Linked DNA regions of Homo sapiens: region 2 is linked to region 1. The links are contacts of gene promoters, found by promoter capture Hi-C in blood cells and fetal thymus (Javierre and others, 2016). All regions are on one chromosome and are shown on one strand. The core of a region is centred on a gene start or on the middle of the fragment in contact, and the rest is flanking DNA. Distances in the headings are between cores, read along the strand shown. Region 1 holds the start of BNIP3L (BCL2 interacting protein 3 like). Region 2 holds the start of ATP6V1B2 (ATPase H+ transporting V1 subunit B2).

Region 1 (7,512 bases), core at 3,665-6,164:
AAGTGGCTCATGCCTGTAATCCCAGCAGTTTGGGAGGCTGAAGCAGGGGGATCCCATAAGACCAGGAGTTCAGGACTTGCCTGAGCAACACAGGAAAACTCTGTCTCTACAAAAAACACAAAAAAATAGCTGGACATGATTGCAGGCACCTGTAGTTCCACCTACTGGGAAAGCTGAGGTGGGATGATCACTTGAGCCCGGGAGGCTGAGGCTGCAGTGAGCTGTGATTGTACCACTGCACTCCAGCCTGGGTGATAGCATGAGACCTTGTCTCAAAAAAATAAAAATAAAATAGCACATGATTAATAAAAAACTTTTTTTTGAAAGTTTAAAACCTTTTGAAAGGAGCACCTAAAAGGAAAATAGAACAAAGTGGGATCTCGTAGTCCTGACTGGGAAAACAATTCTATAAATATGTCAATAATCCCCTCAATTTCTTTTTTATCATTTGGCATTAGAAACCTTTTATTGAGACAAACGGTGGGCTGAAAATAATACAGGGTGAAGGAAGGTTGAGGAAACCAGTATGAAGGCATCTCAAATGATGAACTAAATACATTCCAAAGGTACTATTTACACTTAAGGCAATTTTAAAAGTGAGGTCTTAACCAAAAAGCCTTTACATGGCATTAAAAAAAAAAAGCGGGGGTCATTTAAATCTTTTGGATTGACTAAAAGAGCTAAATTATGTACCCAAAATCTGTACAGCAGGGGCCTGTTTTCAGCAGGTAAGCCTATTATATGCAAGAAAGAACCTCTTACTCTTGTTACAATTGTCCTGTTTTGCTTTGTTTTACAGGAATATATAACCCCCATCCCCACAGAGTTAGTCCATAAGGCCTCAGTGTCTGCATAGAAATGTGGACCTACCTCTACTAGAGAACTATTTACACTGCACTGTAAATACACGTCTGTGTCCACCCCCACAACTAAGCTGTCAATGCCTTGAGTGAAGGGGTAGTTACAACTCAGTCATTTTGTATCTACAGTGACAATTAATAGGCACTCAATACTTTTTTTTGCATGAATGATAAATGATATTACACTACCACCACTATTTACATTAACATTTCCCATCATTAGCTGTCCCCAAAATAAAAACACCAAATTGCTGCCACATTTTCAGCAGTTTTCATAATATAGTGCTTCTGGACTTTTTAATGTAAACAAACATGCTTGATTTACCAATTTTCAGAGTAATGACACAAACTTAGCATTCTTCTTGGAATGGAAAACTTTCTGGGAAGTTACTTCATTCTTTTTCTCTTTTCAAAAGGCATCTCGCAGCGCCAACTGTTTTTCTCAGAAGGAACGCTTATTTTCTGACCAGACATTCTGGCTATACCACATCATCATAAAGTTCTTCTGTTTTTTCTTCTCTTTACTTTTTGAACTGGAAAATGGATTCACTTTGGTTTTCTTCCTCACAAATTCTTTTCGGTCTGTCTTTCCAGCCATTGCAGTTGCTAGTCTTGTCTCTTTGTCAGATTTTGGCTTTTTATGAAGGCGTTCAATGTCCGGAAGAGAAAGTAATTCACCCCTCGGCTCTTCATCACTGTCGATTTCAATATATTTCCTCTTCTGGGATTTCCCGGGGACAGCGTCAAGTTCTTTTCTCATTTGCGCCATGCGGATTTTCTGGAAGTCTTCCTAACTTAAAACTCGACTGGTGCTGACGGCTGCAGTTTTGGCTTTCTGCTCCTCCATGGGCATGGTGTTCAGCTTCTTGGAAATTTCTTGCTGTTCTTCATTGGAAGAGTGTTGCACATCAACCCATTCGCCATCGGCATCCTCCTCCTCACTGAGACTGGTACTTTCCCATCCATCTTCATCATTTTCAGCACTCTCCTCTTTCTCAACTTCCAGAACTTCTGCTCCTGGAATGTAACCTTTAGCATCTAATTCTCCATATTCTTGTACTCTTGCTTCTATGGAGGCTTCTGTAGGCTTACCCCAGAATTTCTTCTGCAGCATCTGAGGATTCAGTGTTCGGAAGAGCCGAATCAAAGTTCTAGCAGACATCATTACATTATTATCCTTGTGTGTTTTATACTGAGCCAGGTCTTGGAGAAGCTTTTCAGTCATGGCCAGAGGACACTGAGCTGTTGTCTCTTTTACAGCATTGATTCCTATTGTCATGGCTTCTCCAGAGTTCTTGTCGTTAACAAAATTGTTGGCCACAGTCATAAGCAATGATTGAATAATCGCTGGGTGTACTAGGTGATGAGATGCTTGTGCAGCAAACAGAAGGTTCTTTGTTACTTCTCTTTGGTGGGGCTGCAGAAACCTTCGCAAAAAGTGATAGAAATTGAAGAGGAAGAGCTTATGAATTCCCACCAATCTGAGATGAGGTTCATGAGCATCATCTTCACTTCCAACCTCTCCTTACAGCACTCAAGCTGCTTTAGTAGTTTTTCTGCAAAATCTTGGGGATCATGAATCAAGTGAACGGCTAAAAAGTTAAACACCTCTGGTTTTTTCTTCTTCTTTTGTTTCTTGAGCACTTTCATTGCCTTTTCCAACTTTTTCTTGTTTTGGGAACTTTGTTCCCTGTAGCATACTGTGCTAGCAGGTCTCTTGCTGTTGGTCCGTCATCCTCAGATTCGGAGTCACTGGCCTGTTTTTCATCTTCATCTTTTCCAAGAAAGAATGTCAAAGCAGCAACTAATATCTTGGTGACCTAAGAGAAACATGCAGTTGTGATAACATTGACAGTTTTGGTATCATTCCAGATGTTCCTTCTGTAGAGTTCAATCATAACATCTAAAGACATCTTGGCTGCAGTTGCATTGCTATCTCTCAACATGGTATACATGAAATTTTACAATACTACATCCACTTTATTCTTGTGTTTTGCATTTATATTCTTGATATCAGTCACGATATATGTGTATGAAGTCTTTTGCAGAAGCTTATCATGGCAACAGAGAAGTTCAAAGAAGAGTTCTAGCAGGCTTGATGGATTGATGAGATTCTTATTTCTCAGCAAGATCAAAGCTTTGCAAAATGTCATTCGAAGATCTGGATCCAATACAGTATGATTACAGGACAGAAGATCTTTCACCACTTGAGGAAAATTACTTAGATACCCTGGGTAGCAGTAACTAATCTATAACAAAGCAAAGGCTCTTCTGAAGTTTCTCTCTTTCTCTCCTATTATTCAGATGCACATATTTAGGACGTTCTGTGCCATAAACACCACCAGCTCTGCTAGTTCTTTACCGGGTTTATATGGTTGCAATTTGAAAATCTCCACATTGGATGTGTAGTGATTATACTGCTGTAGAAACTCCTAGATGGAGGGTGGTGGGTCTCGCTTCATCAGATTCTGTAACTGCAGTCAGGTTGCTGGGCAGCTTGTTGTTGTTTCTGCTGGACATTCTGGCTGAAGACTGGCTTCGCGGCGAGCAGTTTTAATAAAACTCAGATGGCCAGCAGCCGCCAATCCCTACCAGCTGCGGCTTGAACTCCTGCTTCCGGGTATGACCGGAAACAGCACTCAATCTATTAATAGAGTTCATTTCTGACCAAAATCTTAAAAGAATTTGCAAAGGGATTTGACAAATCAATCCTTAAAAAAAACCTTTTAGCATGGACTTTTTCAAATATATTAAAAAATTAGAGGAATACTTTAATGTATTACATAGCTTCAATAATTACCAACACAAGGTCAATCTTGGACAAGTCCATTTTTAAGTTCATCTGAAGAGTAACTAGCCATTAACATCTGAAAAAGACAAAGGAAGAGAAACTTTAATAGTTATCTAACAGAGGTATTGCAGATAGCCCTGAAACAGACTCACATTTTTGTGGTCATTCAGAGAGTGACAAAGGTGCAATTTCAAATCAGTGTAGAAAGGATGGCTTAAAATTAATATTATTAGGTCAATGGGCTACAAAATTGGGAAGAATTGAAGTTAAATAATTTACAGCATATGGAAAATAAATTTCAGATGGATTAGAGCTCTAAATGTAAAGTTAAGCCTATAAGAAAATTAGAAAAAGTTATAAGGGAATTATAGATTAGTAATCTTGGTGTGACTGTCTCCCCAAGCCATGTAAGAATGATAAATCTGATTACATGAAAACCTTAAGCTTCTACAGAGTGAAAAAAACAAATTAAAAGACAAGTTAGAGACTGCGAGAAACATATGTCACTCATAAATCAGACCAAGGAGACTGGACGAAGACATGGAGATGTGAAGTAGGAGGTGTGCTCAGGAACATAGTTTAATGTCATCCACGTACAGGATAAACGGCTTCCCACGTCATGTCCCAGAAATCGATTAGTCGATGGGATTTGGGTGAGTACTTTCTTCTCTCTGTTTTCCTGAATTTTTCTTTTTTCTTTCTTCCCCTTTCTTCTTTCTCTTTTTTTCAGAATGATGGTGTGTTTGTAATCGACATTTTAAAAATTCTGTAACAATTAAATTTGGGGGCGGCCTTCCCTTGTTTCCCGTATGGAGTGTTGATGTTTCAGCAGCTTTATTTGGAGTTTACACGTGGAGGCACCTGGGTTTGGGGATTCCTTTGTGTCCCCAAGACACCTATTGCAGAAGTGAGTCCTAAGAGGTAGAAAACAGATGCGTGCGCAGGGCTGGGTGAAGCACTGTGGAGCCTGTGTGAGAGGAGGCACGGGCGCGAACACAGGAGCGCACTTCCTCATTCCGTTTCTCCTCATCCTCTCTCCCACTGCCACTGGCATCACTCATCCCATCCGGTCATCCCAAGTCACACGCAAGAGTTCGTTCCCGGCGCGCGCGTCAGCCTGACTCGAGCGTCTCCACGTCCGGGGCCCGCAGGGGAGCGCCCCTGCCCCGTCCGGTCGCTTGTTGTGTTGTCATCACGTGGCCTGGGCGGGCCCTGACGTCAGGGGCAGGGGAGGGACGGCGCAGGCGCAGAAAAGGGGGCGGCGGACTCGGCTTGTTGTGTTGCTGCCTGAGTGCCGGAGACGGTCCTGCTGCTGCCGCAGTCCTGCCAGCTGTCCGACAATGTCGTCCCACCTAGTCGAGCCGCCGCCGCCCCTGCACAACAACAACAACAACTGCGAGGAAAATGAGCAGTCTCTGCCCCCGCCGGCCGGCCTCAACAGTGAGTGCGGGGCCGAGGCTCTGTGAAGGGGATGGGGGAGGAGGAGCAGCCCCGGCCGCCGCCACCGGCGCGGCGCGGGAGGCGGGAGGAGAAGGCAGCTCATTGGCTCAGGCATGGGATGTCCAGGTGACTGACAGCTCCCGTCCCCTGTCAAGAGGAGGGGCGCCTGCCTTGCTCCGGGCCTCTCTGTTGCCTCCTGGGGTCTTGGGCCCGGGGCCGTTTGGGCTCGCGGTCCGGGAGCGGCGCGGGTAGCGCGGATCCCCCTGGTGCGGGGGGTGGTCCCCAGCAGCGGAGCCGGGCGGGGCGGGGCGGGGGCGGGCCTGGGGGGCGGGGAGGCCGGGTGGGCGGAGCGGGCCGCGGAGGGGACGTGGGCCGGGATGGGGACGTGCGGCGGGGACGCCGGGGGATGGACGCGCGGGAGCGGGGCGGGGCGGGCGGCTGCCGCGGGACGTGTCGGGGATCAGGTGTGCGGGGCTCGCGGGCGGGCAGCGTCTGGCGGGCGCGGGAGCCCCCCAGCGAGCATTCCTTTGTTGCCACACGTTTGTCAGGAAAATTCATTTGCTCGTCTAGGGTTGGCTTCAGTCACGTGTGGGGTGAGAGGCTGTGCCTTGCTTCTCCTTTTTCCTTTTTTATTTTTTTATTAGATTTCTCGAAGTTGCCCAAGTGATTTTTTTTTTTTTAAAGCGATGGGTTGTGCGCCCAGTAAAGCTGAGAGCAGCCTCCTGAACCACCCAAGATTGCACACGTCAGGGAGTCTGGGGCCATGCATTTAAAGAAACGGAATTAAAAACGCACTCGGGCAGTTGAAAGTTAACGGACGAGGCTGATAGACAACCCAGGCCAGGGTCTTTTCATAACATTCCGCTGCCCAGACATCTTGTCCTCAGATTGTTCCTAGTCGTGAGAACCGGGAGCCTTCTTGGAAGGGTTCTTGCCTAACCTTTCTTTAATTCAACTCTTGGGAAAGAGGTAATGGGAGCAGTGAGCATATGGCCAGATGAAGTCTTTTCAAAACCACTTGGATGCTTAAAGGTCATGCAGTATCTTTCGTAAGAGGGAGGTGCTTCCAGTGTGGCCTGAAGATTATTTTAGGGAAGAGAGTTTCAGCCCTCACCAGGTAGCGATGGAGTTTGGAGATTTTAAGATGGATGCTGCTGCTCCAGGTTTTGATGGGTTAATTCCCAAAACCTTTAAGTGTCATATATTCCAGAATGTAAGATGGTTATATTATTTCCCACAGTAAATTAGGATGAATGTATGAGTCTTTAAACGTTACTTGTATCACATATTCCTATGCAATTTTAAGTTATTTGCCCATGTTTAGCATACTGTCTTAGATTTTAGAATGGGAAGAAACTTCAGAGCTAGCTAACTGCCTCCTGTTGTTTGCCTGTAGAGAAACAGGTCTAGAGTAAATGGCCTTGTCCAAGTTCACAACCGGCTGGGAGCAAAGCAGAGGTTCTCATGTTCAGCCTGTCTACTGCTCTTTTGAGGACATTTTTTTTTTTTTTTTTTTTTTTTTGAGGTAGAGTCTCGCTCTGTCTACAACCTCCGCCTCCCAGGTTCAAGCGATTCTTCTGCCTCAGCCTCCCGAGTAGCTGGGACTACAGGTGCCTGCCACCCGCCCAGCTAATTTTTGTATTTTTAGTAGAGACGAAGTTTCGCCATGTAGCTGGGATTACAGGCGCCCGACACCAAGCTAGGCTAATTTTTGTATTTTCAGTAGAGAGGGGGTTGTTGGTCTCTCACCATGTTGGCCAGGCTGGTCTCAAACTCCTGACCTCACGTCATCCGCCCGCCTGGGCCTCCCAAAGTGCTGGGATTACAGGCTTGAGCCATCGCACCGGCTTCTTTTCAGTGGTGCAGAACCTCCTGCTGGTGTGTGTGTCTTATTTTGTCAGTGTGTTATTCTACCTAATTGACAAAGGTGGCCAACCTTTCTGTTTCTTTTTAGTATTGTTTCTTAATTGTACAGTTTTCTTATGAGTGAAGATACTTGGTAGGTGTACGTGATTTCACTGAAAGCAAAGGGATTTTCATCTTCCTTTGACCCTTTAACAACAACAACAAAAAGGGCTGAGCCAGGCAGGGCACGATGGCTCACACCTGTCATCCTAGCACTTTGGGAGGCCAAAGCGAGTGGATCACTTGAGGTCAGGAGTTCGAGACCAGCCTGGCCAACATGGTGAGAGAACAACCCCCTCTCTACTGAAAATACAAAAATTAGCCTGGCTTGGTGTTGGGCGCCTGTAATCCCAGCTATTCAGGCGGCTGAGGCAGGAGAATCGCTTGAATCCGGGAGGCAGAGGTTGCAGTGAGCCGAGATCACGCCACTGCACTCCAGCCTGGGTGACAGAGCAAGACTCTGTCTCAAAAAAAAAAAGGGGCGAGGGCGGGGGCTGAGCCATATGTCATTGTTTA
Region 2 (7,512 bases), core at 4,692-7,191, 6.2 Mb before region 1:
GGGATGCCAAGACGGCGGGATCAATTGATGTCAGGAGTTCGCGACCAGCCTGGCCAACATGGTAGAACCTCGTCTCTACTAAAAACAAAAATTAGCCGGGCGTGGCGGTGGGCACCTGTAATCCCAGCTACTTAGGAGGCTGAAGCAGGAGAATCGCTTGAACCCGGGAGGCGGAAGTTGCAGTAAGCCGTGATTACGCCACTGCACTCCAGTCTGGGCGACAGAATGAGACTCCCTCTCAAAAGAAGAAGAAGAAGAAGAAGAAGAATCCATTCCATTGCTCCGGCCTCCAGCCTGGGCTGTCATCCTACACTAGTCCCACCCCTTACACAGCTTCCAAATCTGCCCCTATTTTTCACACCGCTACGCACATCCTATAACAAGCCAATATATGTTTGTCGAATGGATACATGCGTGAACGAATTGGGTAGGGAGTAAAGTGAACTAAATGATGCCACATGTGTTAATAATCACTGAAACATGTTTTCCATTGCTTCTGTTTTTCAAAGCGGTTTTCACAGCTTGAGTTCTCTCCATTCAGCGTCACGAAAGCCCATTCGAAATGGATATCAGCTGACGTTGGCCTGCACGCGTTTGCCTTCCTCCCCTCACTCCGCTTGTGCGCCTCTCTTTCGGCTGGCTTTCCTCTCTCCTTCCATCTCCCCTCTTTCGCTTCCCTTCCCTCTGCGCCCGCGCGCGCCTCCCAGCACGCTGGTCAGCTCCTCTTGCTCGCAAGCAGGTCTGGCCCCAGCGGCGCGAAGTCACGAGGCTGGGGGCGGCCGGCGGCGAAGGGGGCGGGGCGAGGCCGGGGCGCCGCAGCGCGCATAGGCGGAGCCTCGGGCCGCGGGCCGCCTTGGTATATCTGCGCGTGCGCGGCGTCGCTGCTGGGCCAGTCGGGACAGAGGAGACAAGATGGCGCTGCGGGCGATGCGGGGGATTGTCAACGGGGCCGCACCCGAGCTACCCGTGCCCACCGGTGGGCCGGCGGTGGGAGCTCGGGAGCAGGCGCTGGCAGTCAGTCGGAACTACCTCTCCCAGCCTCGCCTCAGTGAGTATCAGAGAGTAATACGTCTCCGGTCTTTGCTCCCTAGCCTAGCCCTTTGCTCCCAGTCACCTGCTTAGCCAGCGGGTAGGGGGTAGGATTTGTTTTTCCCTCCCGCGTCTCCCCTCCGACCCTGACCCACTTGTCTCTTTAGAAGGAGATTTGCCTGTACCTAATATTTCCAGGAGATGGGCTGAGGGCAAGAGCACCAGCGGGAACTTTTTCCTGGGGTTGGTGGGCTCCTGGCTGTTGCCCTACCCCCTCCCCTCCCCAGCTTCCCTAGGCTGGAGCCTTCTTAGGCACTTGCTTCCCGTCCCCGAGGGCCACTTCTTGCCACTCCGATCTTAATCTTCCCCTGACTTCATTTGGATATCTAGGGGTCGAGGGAACGCCCCTTCTCCCCTCCCCCTGGTGAGGACCTCAATGGGGTCTTCAACTCCTGCGGAGGGCAGACGGTAGAGCCTTCGCTGACGTGGTCAGGCCTTTCGTGGATGGAGGTCAGGCCAGTAGCCAGAGGGAGATGTGGCTTGGTGTTTGGTGGAGGGGCTGCTCCGCAGAAGGACACCTAGATATCAGAGAACGCTAGAGCTGAAAAGTACCTTGCAGGTCATCCAGTCCAACCCTATCATTTTACAGGTGAGAAGCCTAAGGTTCTGGAAGGGGTAGGATTTGCCATGCTTCAGACACTTAATTATTGGCAGAGCAGGGACTAAAAATCCAGGTTCTTAAATTCTCGCTGGGCCTTTTTCTACCGTTGCCTCTTCATTTACTGACCAGTTAACCAAACTTGGTTGAGTGCAGGGTTCTTTGGGGAAGCCAGGTGGCTTTGCCCATAGGTGGTGTGTGTGCATAGGCTTGTTTAAATGTTGTGATTTTTTAAATAAAAAGGCCTTAATGAACTAGGTTTAAGTGGATAGCTCAGCAATTCCAAAAGAAATGGTTCTTGATTACTAGAGAATGCAGTTGTGTAGCATCCAACTTCTTCACAGCTTTCTTCGGAACTGGCAATGAGCCCTCGAAATAGACTTTTTAAAAAACTGGGAAAAGCACATGATGTTTCCCCAGGTGGTGAGACTGCATTTTCACTGGTTAATTGCCAGAGTGTCTGTCTCTAGGTGGCCGACTGATTAAAAAGGATTTCAGATGAAGGGTGTTAGTCTGGGCGATCTGAAGCCTGACTAATCCACATCCTGATCTGTCACTGGGTCATGTGATAGCACTGCAGTGTGAAGAAAAAGGAAAACATTTGATTCGGTGGATTGCTGAGATGTGCCTTTTACAGTAACTGGGAATTGTTCGAATTAGAAAATGTATGTTGGGACTTATCTGAGCTGAAGTAGCTACTTCAGGAAATCGGCAGATGTTGCATTCTTATGCAAACCTTGGCAATAAATTTATACCTACGAATTACAAATTCTCTTTTATTAATTGCGTTTGTATGCATTGCCTTTCTTTGGGTAGAACAGATAGACATTAGTGGTGCCTCTCAAAAAAGGTTATAAAGGTGCAGTAGTCAGTTTCCATATAATTAATCATTCAGTGTCAATTCAGAGAATATCAACTGAAATAACGTTGTTTAAAGAGTACTCCATGATTAAGATTGTAAACCTTTAAGAGAGATGAATATGATTTCTCCATGGTTTGTACGTACTTACCCAGTTGCTGAGGGATTTTTCCAGACGTTATTCTTGACAAAACTGTTGTAGCATAGGGCTTCACACTCAACTGTTAGATGTCAGGGATCCTTTTTATGTCCCCACTGCCTAGCACAGTGCCTGACACATAGAATGTGTCTTGTAATTGTGTAACTTGCATTTAAACTCCTTGCTCGAATAATTCAGTGGATAGATTGTGAACATGGGTGGAATCAGAGCAGGGAGTTGAAATGCCCGGTCGAGTTGAGTTTCACTTATATATCCGTGTTATTCTAAAAAGCATAAATGATATCATACTTAGGCTAACAACTAACAGCATTTGAATATCTTCTTATTTTGCCATATTTTTTATTCTACTCAAAAGTTTTAATTGCTTCTGAGTAAATATTGATTAACCTCTTAATTTTTGTGGGTTTTTTTTTTTTTTTTTTTTTTGAGATGGAGTCTCGCTCTGTCACCCAGGCTGGAGTGCAGAGTGGCGCGATCTAGGCTCGCTGCAACCTCCGCCTTCCAGATTCGAGCAATTCTCCTGCGTCAGCCTTTCGAGTAGCTGGGACTACGGGCGCACGCCGCCATGCCCGGCTAATTTTTTGTATTTTAGTAGAGACGGGATTTCACCGTGTTTCCCAGGCTGGTGGCGAACTCCTGAGCTCAGGCAATCCGCCTACCTAGGCCTCCCAAAGTGCTGGGATAACAGGCATGAGCCACCACGCCCAGCCAACCTCTTAATTTTTGTAAATTGATTGTAATTTTTTGTGAATTGATTGATGTTATCATTTAAGGGGACATGTAATTATAGTTATTGTGTGTGTGTGTGTGTGTGTGTGTTGAGACAGGGTCTCACTCTGTTGCCTAGGCTGGAGTGCAGTGGTGTGAGCTCAGGTCACTGCAACCTCCACATCTCAGGCTCAAGCGATCCTCCCACCTCAGCCTCTCAAGTATCTGGGACTACAGACGGACACCACTACGTCCAGCTAATTTTTTTTAATTTTTATTTTTTATTTTTGGTAGAGATGGGATTTCCCCATGTTGCCCAGGCTGGTCTACAACTCCTGAGCTCAAGAGATCCGCCCGCCATGGCCTCTCAAAGTGCTGGGATTACAGGTGTGAGCTGCTGTGCCCAGCCTAAAGCTTCACACTGAACCTTTAGAAGTCAGAGATCCTTTTTGTGTCCCCACTGCCTAGCACAGTGCCTGACACATAGAATGTGCCTTGTAATTGTGTAACTTGCATTTAAACTCAAAAAGCTTTGTTTTTTGAATGAAGAAATGGAGTAATGTTGACAGTTCCACTGTACAAATTAGATCCTTTTAAAAAATAGCTTCAAGATTATAGGACTTTTAAAAGAAATGGAAAACATATTCAGGCTTGAAATTAGGAAATTATCTTGAGCATTTTAGTTGAATTTCTGAAGTCACAAGGAATGAAAACTTGATTTTCTCTTAAAAGAAAAGATTCAACAACATACATAGAGCTTTCGGGTGCTATGTATTTTGAATTTGGTCATCTCCATTTTTCTTGAGACCCTAGATCAACTGGCCTTAAGTTTCTTATATCATAAAGCAGAGCCAGCCCTGCAAAAAGTCAAAATAGGAATCTTCTCCTTGCTTTTTTCCTAGAACCTCTTCTTCAGGTGCTCACTGCTCATCATGCAGATCTCTACTCTTCTTGTACAAGGGAAGATGATTGCTCTGGGTTTTTGTTTTGCTAATAAGGCAGAGGCTAAAAGACTAGGACACTTATTATGCAATGGCTGTCAACTTTTTCTGAGTATTTCGTAATCATTAAATGGTGTTACTAGTGTTGAGCAATATCCTATCCTGCAGGAGGAAGAGGATGTCATCTGATAAAATATGTGCTCCTTAAAACCCGTGTAGATTTTGGGTTTTAGATGTTACTTCATAAATACTTGTCTGGCTCATATGATAGTTCAGAATCAAAGCCAAGACATTTTGGTTGTAAAATATGTTAAGAAGGTAATATAAGCATATATCTTCTGTGTTGTCAGAAGTTCTGATTATCCCCCATTCACACACCTACGGGCTCAAATTCTTTTTCATTTGGAGAGGAGTGGTCAATATGTAGGTAAATAGAAATATTTAGGTAATTTACAAATGGGTTTTTTCCTGTTTTGAAGGGCAACTTAATGTCTTTGACAGCCATAGTTTAAACTGGTATCTCTGTTTTGGGCTGTTAATGGTAATGGTGAGGAAGGCTGGATAAATCTAGAGATAAAAGGTAGTGTTTGTTATCATTCTGCTTGGTTTTCTTTGCAGATAGTTTTAGTACCATGGAGAAGAGCTGTAGTTTTATACAAATTGTCTTTTTGTCCCCACTTGTAGTCCAAGTGCTAGAAGCTGTATGATCTCCATACTTTTTAATTGTACTGAAGACTAAGGCCAGAAATATTATAAGGGTCATAGAGTACCAATCCTAAGATTAAAGAAAAACAAAACAGTTAGAAGCCTGGCTCCCCCATTTAAAAACAAACTTATCAGGGCCTTAGTTTCCTTAGGGTGCATCAGCCTTGCCTACTGTCTTAGCCATTTTCTGCTCCTTTTAACAGAAAACCTGAAACTGGGTAATTTATAAAGAAAGGGAATTTATTTCTTAAAGTTCTGGAGTCTGGGAAGGCCAAAGTGGAGGGGCCGCATCTGGTGAGAGCCTTCTTTCTGGTGGGACTTGAAAGAGTCCCAGGGTGGTTCAGGGCATCACATGGTGAGGGGGCTGAGAATGCAGGGGCACTAGCTCAGGTCTCTCTTCCTTTTGTAAAGCCACCAGTTACCTTCACATGATAATTCATTAACCCATGAATGGATTCATCCATTCATAAGAGCAGAGCCCTCATGACCCATTCCCCTCTTAGAGGCCTCACCTGTCAGTACTGCCACATTGGGGATGAAGTTTATTGCCTGGTGCGTTAAAAAGTAAAAACCTGTTTTGCATACCTAAAATTGCAGGCTTGTGAAATTGTTTTGGGTGGTATCGCTTCATAATTCTTACAAGATACCATACCACAAAAAATGAACCAGTTCAGTTTTAGAATTTGGGCTGTAGTAGAGTCAAAGAATAAGTGGCTTTGGAGCTAGAGTGTACACATTCAGATCCTTGGGCTGGTTGCTTGTGTCCTTGGGCAAGACACAATAATTTCTCTGAGAATAATTTTTCTCTTCTAAAACTTAGAATAATGATAGCTAACTCTGTCTGTTATGGAGATTAAATGAGAATTCCTGAAAAGTACTTATTAAATGTATGATAGTGTTATCAATTAACTTGCAAGGTTACTTACTAACTTTTTAAAAGGCTGGATACGTTGTTCCAAATTTAGAGACTTTTGATGAAGTAGAATCTTGTCTTCTGTAGTAGATGTCAATTTGAGTCACTGTTTCCAGGAAAAGCTATGACTAGTGTTTCTTTTTCTTGGTCATACTTTTGCTCGTGACTGGCAAAATTTCATAGTTTGGAATGAGCTTGAATTTTAAACATGAGATTCTAAAGCAGTATTGTTGTAGAAATCAGACCTATAAAGGAGATACAATCTTGTTGAAAAAATAAAGAGAATTTTAAGAACCTGGTGTATTTTACTGATGTTGCATTTTATTCAAAACAGTTAATCATAAATCTCAATACCATATCCCCTCCCTCACCCCAGCTGTTTGGTAAAGGTTTTGGAAAGGTCTACGTTTCTGCATTTCTGAAAACTGGTTTCAAGAAAACATATTTCTAATGTAGCTCACTTTCCATTTCCACATGGCAATTTTAGAAAGCCATTGTAAAAAAAATGCTGGGAGTCTTTAAAATGAGAACAATGAAGAAATCTTTTAAAGGGTTGGAATTATGTTTTTTAAGAGTATTCAATCATTTTAAAACAGTAGGGATGGTTTTCATAAAAGTGGCAGAAAATGTGGCAAATGGGGTCTTTCTAGTAATCTAGGGGAATGATTAATCCTTTCACATGACCATCCATCCAAGTAGCTTGCTTTTTATCTAAAGTGGGGAAAAAAAAATACAGTTCAGTTGGGGGGCCTCTATTGAGACAGTTGCAGTACAATTACTGATGTATTCAAGCAAATATGTGATGTCTGGATTTAAACGTCCTGTTAGCAGGAAAGATGGAAGCCCTGACAGTGCTGTCTGCTCTGTCCCAGCATTTTTACCAGGGCTCTGGCTTCCCCGCCTGAGGCTGAAGGAATTGTAATTTTAAATTCCAAAGCCACTTGAGTGGACAGACTGGTTAGTAAATGGTTTCCTCATGCTTGGGAGTCCACATCTGTGCCAGGAATCTCTGTGCAAGCTCATTATAAGACCTCAAAAGAAATCAAGCAAGTGAAAAATTCCCAGTTGCTAGACAGCTTCATGTTAATTATTTTAGGCCTTATAGTAAATTTTCTTCAAAACTTTAGTTCATGTATTTTTTTTCAGTTGTTCTGCTTATGAAATTTAGTGAATTTTGTAGGTGTCTGGTAGAATTACTCTCCCCTGAGTGTTCTTATACCTGATCCCCATTTCACTTGCCATGCAGGTGTGATAGGTGAGGGCTTTGGGTAGGACCTGCTGGGGTAGAATTAGCTGTTTATTCCTAGGGCGCACTTTGCAGTGGAAAACAACAGTCTCTAACCTGGCAGTAACGTTTGACTTTTTTTAAAAGGATCCTTTTCTTATCTTGTTTGACCCCCTGGCCTTTCTTTCCATTGCCTACTCCGTCCTTCAGAAGCTCTTTTCCCTAGTTTTTATGACACCATTTAATTGTGGCTTTTTACCTTGCAGGCTATACAATTTCTCCAATTTCCTTTGTGACTTTTGTCACTTCTGCGT

The links. Contacts are between HindIII fragments. The CHiCAGO score rates a contact against its expected background, and 5 or more counts as called.
Region 2: a fragment that was not itself captured here is called in contact with the fragment with the promoter of BNIP3L in region 1 in 1 of 17 cell types (neutrophils); the score reaches 5.0 in neutrophils.

The regions. Positions count from the first base shown.
Region 1 is chr8:26,378,140-26,385,651 of GRCh38, forward strand. It overlaps BNIP3L (BCL2 interacting protein 3 like), which reads left to right and starts at 4,915. Exons shown (of 6, transcript NM_004331.3): 1 at 4,915-5,091. The coding sequence starts at 4,992. It also overlaps the pseudogene SDAD1P1. RefSeq lists enhancers at 3,392-4,591, 4,565-4,864 and silencers at 5,075-5,664, 7,414-7,512. The HindIII fragment of the contact is 3,600 bases long and covers 4,094-7,512 here.
Region 2 is chr8:20,196,495-20,204,006 of GRCh38, forward strand. It overlaps ATP6V1B2 (ATPase H+ transporting V1 subunit B2), which reads left to right and starts at 887. Exons shown (of 14, transcript NM_001693.4): 1 at 887-1,048. The coding sequence starts at 913. RefSeq lists a silencer at 661-940. The HindIII fragment of the contact is 3,998 bases long and covers 3,943-7,512 here.